Regions from separate parts of the Homo sapiens genome. Here region 2 is linked to region 1. The links are contacts of gene promoters, found by promoter capture Hi-C in blood cells and fetal thymus (Javierre and others, 2016). All regions are on one chromosome and are shown on one strand. Each heading gives the region's core, a stretch centred on a gene start or on the middle of the fragment in contact. The rest is flanking DNA. Distances are from core to core; before and after follow the strand shown. Region 1 holds the start of ACE2 (angiotensin converting enzyme 2). Region 2 overlaps LOC124905249 (a long non-coding RNA gene).

Region 1 (2,737 bases), core at 238-2,737:
GTGCAGTGGCTCATGCCTGTCATCCCAGCACTTTGGGAGCCTGAGGCAAGAGGATCACTTGAGCCCAGGAGTTCAAGACCAGCCTGGGAGACAAAGTGAGATCTCATCTCTACAAAAAAAAATGTTAAATGATGCGAGAGGATCATTTGAGCCCAGGAGGTCAAGCTGCAATGAATCATGATCATGCCACTCCATTCCAGCCTGGGCAACAGAGCGAGACCCTTCAAAAAAAAAAAAAAGTATGGGCCTCATGCTCTCTCTTCACAGCTTCTGGTAACTCACCAAGAAATAGCTACAACGTGTCCTTGATTTTGTTTTTTGGCGAGGAATTGCTTGATCCTGAAAGTCTTGTAAGAAAACATGATGAGAAATGGTCAACCACACATACCACAATGGCAGAGAAAGGGAGAGAACTTTGGAAACCTGTTTTAACCAAGCTTTTTTTTCCATATCTCTATCTGATGGACTTCTCCACACTTCTACATCAGCAGCTTTATGACACTATACTGATCAAGTTTGGATGCCTTCTATTATTTTGAGGTATATTCTCACAGCTTGACATAAGGATCACCACTTAAGGATACTGTTTTGGGATCTGTGAGAGAAGAAATTCCTAAATCCTTGCACTTGTTAAAGCATCTGGCTTTCCCAGAGCATTCTGATATTTGTCAGAACTGGTTTAATCATAGTTTTTTTGTTGTTTGTTTTTGTTTTTGTTTTGGAGGGCTCTGCCTGGATTCTGTGACCTTTTGGAGTCCCTTGGAGGTCTGTGACAAAGAGGAAAGGAATTCCCAAGTCCAGCCTCACCCAAGCCCTGATTAGCTTAATTACTAGTTCTTTCACTAAGCCTCCAGTTGCATTTTTCAGTTAATATATCATTTGTAGAGAATCTTTAGATATTCCTATTGATATTGTAGGCTAAAGGAAATTATTAACTCAATAACTTATGGCATTTCCATGAAATGCTTTGAAATCCTGACTGTGATGAGAATTATGGTGGTAACTTTATAAAGAATATTCTCTTGTTTCCAAGCATCTGGATTGAGACCAGTGAATTATTTTGTAACAATTTTCTGAATGAACCCCAGGGTCAATTAAGTTTAGTTATCTGGGACTCCAAAATCAGGGATATGGAGGCAAACATCCAATCTCACAACTCAGAGCATTTTTTTTGATTTCCCTTTTCAGTTTCACGGGCAGTAATCTAATCTTTAAGAGGCAACAAATAGCCCAATAGAGCCATGAGAACTCACCATGTTTTGGACATTCTCTTCAGTAATATTGGTGTTATAATTCCAAGAAGCAAGTGAACTTTGATAGAACAGGTCTTCGGCTTCGTGGTTAAACTTGTCCAAAAATGTCTTGGCCTGTTCCTCAATGGTGGACTGAGCAGCAGTTACAGCAACAAGGCTGAGAAGGAGCCAGGAAGAGCTTGACATCGTCCCCTGTGAGCCAAGATCACATCCACTGAATGACTTTCCCTAGACTAAAACCTCCTCATGAGATTTTCTCTCTTATCAGCCTTTGAACTTGGGTTGGGCGCTGAGCAGGAAAGACCAAAAAAAGAAAAAGAAGAAGAACACAGTAAACAATCTGCTGAGCCAATATAAAGTTCATCCTGGAGAGGACAGATATGTAACAGATTTTAGAATAATTTTTTAAAGTGAATCAAATAAGAATACGTTATTCTTTAATCCTAGAGAACCTTACCTCTCCTGTCACTTTATGGCCAAATCAAAACCGGTACTTTTGGTTAATATTTTCCTAGAAAGCTGTTAAAGATACACGGAAAATGTTATAATTTTACAGTGACCAAAGAGGTCTAGAACTAGGGATCATGAAGATAATGTTGGTGTTTGTATGGTTTTCAGACAATTTCATTAATAGGTTATCTCACATTTATTTTTATTTCAAGATCATATTCCCAGAAACTCTCTACTTGGGCAACATTTTCCCTTCCAAATACATGACTTTGCCCTTGTCTTTATGGAATTCATATTTCTGATCAGTTTTTTTTTTTTTTTTTTTTTTGAGACTGAGTCTCGGTCTGTCGCCCAGGCTGGAGCACAGTGGCGCGATCTCGGCTCACTGCAAGCTCTGCCTCCCAGGTTCACGCCATTCTCCTGCCTCAGCCTCCCGAGTAGCTGGGACTACAGGTGCCCACCACCACGCCCAGCTAAGTTTTTGTATTTTTAATAGAGACGGGGTTTCACCGTGTTAGTCAGGACGGTCTCTATCTCCTGACCTTGTGATCTGCCCAACTCGGCCTCCCAAAGTGCTAGGATTACAGGCGTGAGCCACTGTGCCCAGCCATTTCTGATCAGTTTTAATTTCCATGGCCATTTTTTAAAATTATGACTACTCTCCACTCCACAGGTCAACTCTCCTGATCTGCCTTTGCAAAACTTAAAAAAGCTCATTTCCTATTTCTCACACTGGTTCTGTGGCTGACTTCTTTGAGTGCCTCCTTCTCCTTCACTTACCTATTCAAAACTCAGTCAAGGTCACGTGGAAGTAAGAAAGCCTCCACATGGTATGAAATCCAAAGAGTATCTATGTCAACTCCTGATCCTCTGTAGCCATGGGATCACAACAACATAGAATTCAAAGAGATTTTAGTGGTTATCTTGTCAAATTTCAGAAGCGAGCTCAGTGTCCTCATTGCCAGAGTGTATGTATGAGTGCCACAGATCAAAGAGAGGAGCACTTTAAATGGCAGGGTTCAAGGGCCTACCTG
Region 2 (2,831 bases), core at 313-2,812, 850 kb after region 1:
CTGAAGGCAAGAACTATGTCTCATCCATCTGTGTTTTCATTAGCTTTTGCTGCGTAACAGTCCACCCTAAGCTTAGTGACCTAAAAACTACAGCCAACTACGTGACTCGCAATTCTGTGGGTTGGCAATTTGGGCTGGGCCTTTCTTTTGCTGGTCTTCTGCTATACTGAGTTAAGCCGTGCCAGTTGGCTGCTGGTCAACTAGGTGTCTCAGCTTCTGGAAGTTGGCTGGCTGTCAGCTGAGGTAATAGGAGCCCCTGGGGTCACGGATCTCTCATCATTCAGCAGGCTAGCTTGGGCTTCCTCACACGACAGCAGCGGCAGGGTCCCAAGAGCCTCAAGAGTGGATATGCCCCAGTGAGCAAGAGCTTTCAGGTCTCTGCTTGCATCACATTTGCTATTGACCCATTGGCCAAAGCAAATCAAATGGCTATGCCCAGAGTCAATGTGGGAGGGGACTGCCCAAAGGCATGGATACAGACAGGTAAATAATTTGTGGCCATTTATGCAATCTACCAATATCCCCATAATCAAACACAGAACCTTATAAATAGTAGACATGAAATAAATACTTATTGAACTGAATGCTATCTCCCCTTCATGAAAAATCGAGATAAGACCAATAATCTCTTTCCTCTCTACACTAAGTACACCACATCAAGGAGACAGAAGAGGCTGGCTGACCCCTCCTCACAGAGGGTTACCTCACCCTGGGTGATGGAGCCCATCACTTGACAGTCACCTCATAACCATGGTCTTCTCAGCTCCTGGGGTGAGGGGTGCGTTCTTACTGGTGGCTGCTTCCCTAATGCTCTTAGGATGGCAGGACTTGCTCTTCTCAGTGGTTCCATCAAGCTCCCAAGGGGAGTCCCTTGGCCCCCTGCTTCTGCCAAGTCCTGCAGTGACACCTTTATGAAGCAGCTCAAATTAGCAGCCCTGCTCGCCCTCTAGTGGTTTCTTAAGGCTGTACAGCCCTTTGAAGAAAAGTGTTCGAGGCCTTCTACAACTGTACCAGAATAAATAATTGCGGGTGCTTTGGATCAGTGGTTTTCAACAGGGCGTGATATTTTCCTGCAGTGGACATTTGGCAGTGTCTGGAGACATTTTTGGATGTCACAGCTTAGGGGTGGAGGCTGGCATCTAGTGGGTAGAGGCCGGGGATGCTGCCAAACATCCTACATTGCACAGGACACTCCCATAACACAAAATTGTCCAGTCCAAAATGTCAATAGTGCCACAGTTGAAAGATCTTGCCTTATATTCAGAGTGAGCCCTCATTTGTTTTAAGGATGCACCCACAGGCCCACCCAAGGTTGTTCCATGGATGGATCACCCACTCTGGGAAGAGTCAATCTGTAGGAAACAACCCTAAAGTCTCAATGTGAAACTTAAATCTCAGGAACAATTCCTGGGGCATCCCATGATTCTCCAGGTTGGACAGACAAACTAAGCGCTAAACAGGAGCTTGGTTACAGGCAAGAACATCTTACTGTCTCTTTCCATTATCTATGCTCAATCCCATTGATTCAGAGAGCAATTTTCTCAGGAAAGAAAAGTGCTTTAAAGTTTTTATTGTAAGCCAACTAATAGCCCTAGGAAATAAAAATGTCTTCCAGTGGAGAATTGCACCGTGGGACTTCTGTGTGAACCATCAGAAACCTTTGATAAAATTTATATTAGTTGTGTAAACTAAAAAAAAAATTCTAAGCCCCCCAACCATCTGAAAGGACCCCTTCTCTCAGCCAAGGACATTCCAAAGAACCTGAAAAACTAGTTCAGGCAATGATGGGATGCCGGGGCTGGCGGGGTTGGGGGGCAGTGGGGGGCATAGTTGGACATGCCTCCTTATACCCGCCTTGCTTTGGAATTCAGGCACAACTGACCAGCATTCACATTACAATAGACATCTTAAGACTTTGTAGCAATAAGACACCGAATTCCAGCCTGACTCTATTATAGCATCACTTGACAGATAGCAGGCCCTGAAAGAAATTGAAGTATTTTACCCTAAAATATATTTTTTGACATATTTTGAAATGGCCCTGCAATGCTGTCTCTTGTGGGGAAAATCTACATTCTGGAAAGAATCCCTTTACTTTTCCAGGTCTTCGTCCTGATCCAGGAGAGAATTAACTAATAGTCTGGCACCTTTTTAAGTCTAATAAGAAATATTTACAATCTATTTTCTCTGAAGCCTGCTACCTAAAGGCTTCATCTGCATAATAAGAACCTTGGTCTCCACAACCCCTTATCTTAGCCCAGACACTCCCTCCCATAGATTCCAGGCCTTTAGAAGAAGTCTTTCAACCAATTGCCAATTGGAAAATCTTTGAATTCACCTCTGACCTAGAAGCCCCCACTTCCAGTTGTCCCACCTTTCCAGACCAAACCAATGTACACCTTACATGTACTGATTGATATCTTATGTCTCCCTAAAATGTATAAAACCAAGCTGTGGCCCAACCACCTTGGGCACATGTTCTCAGGACCTCCTGAGGCTGTGTCATGAGTACGTCCTTAACCTTCTCAAAATAAACTTCTTTTTTTTTTTTGAGACGGAGTCTCGCTCTGTCTCCCAGGCTGCAGTGCAATGGCGCGATCTCAGCTCACTGCAACCTCTGCCTCCCAGGTTCAAGTGATTCCCCTGTTTCACCCTCCCTAGTAGCTGGGATTAAGGCGTGTGCCATCACACCCGGCTAATTTTTTGTATTTTAGTAGAGACGGGGTTTCACCATGTTGCCCAGGTTGGTCTCAAACTCCTGAGGTCAAGCAATCCACCCACCTCAGCCTCCCAAAGTGCTAGGATTACAGGCGTGAGCCACCGCACCCGGC

What was found. Contacts are between HindIII fragments. The CHiCAGO score rates a contact against its expected background, and 5 or more counts as called.
Region 2: a contact is called between a fragment that was not itself captured here and the fragment with the promoter of ACE2 in region 1, in 1 of 17 cell types (naive B cells). The highest score is 5.5, in naive B cells.

The regions. Positions count from the first base shown.
Region 1 is chrX:15,599,473-15,602,209 of GRCh38, forward strand. ACE2 (angiotensin converting enzyme 2) reads right to left here and starts at 1,488. Exons shown (of 18, transcript NM_001371415.1): 1 at 1,254-1,488. The coding sequence starts at 1,439. RefSeq lists an enhancer at 113-1,312, promoters at 1,439-2,737, 1,439-1,976, 1,439-1,620, 1,440-2,657, 1,440-1,893 and 2 more and cis regulatory regions at 1,478-1,483, 1,521-1,527, 1,587-1,592, 1,617-1,624, 1,683-1,688 and 5 more. The HindIII fragment of the contact is 4,764 bases long and covers 436-2,737 here.
Region 2 is chrX:16,444,425-16,447,255 of GRCh38, forward strand. All of the region lies in intron 1 of LOC124905249 (a long non-coding RNA gene), which reads right to left. Among named protein-coding and RNA genes, the nearest start is that of MIR548AM, 180 kb to the right of the region's middle. RefSeq lists enhancers at 853-1,052, 2,122-2,647, 2,648-2,831. The HindIII fragment of the contact is 2,987 bases long and covers 70-2,831 here.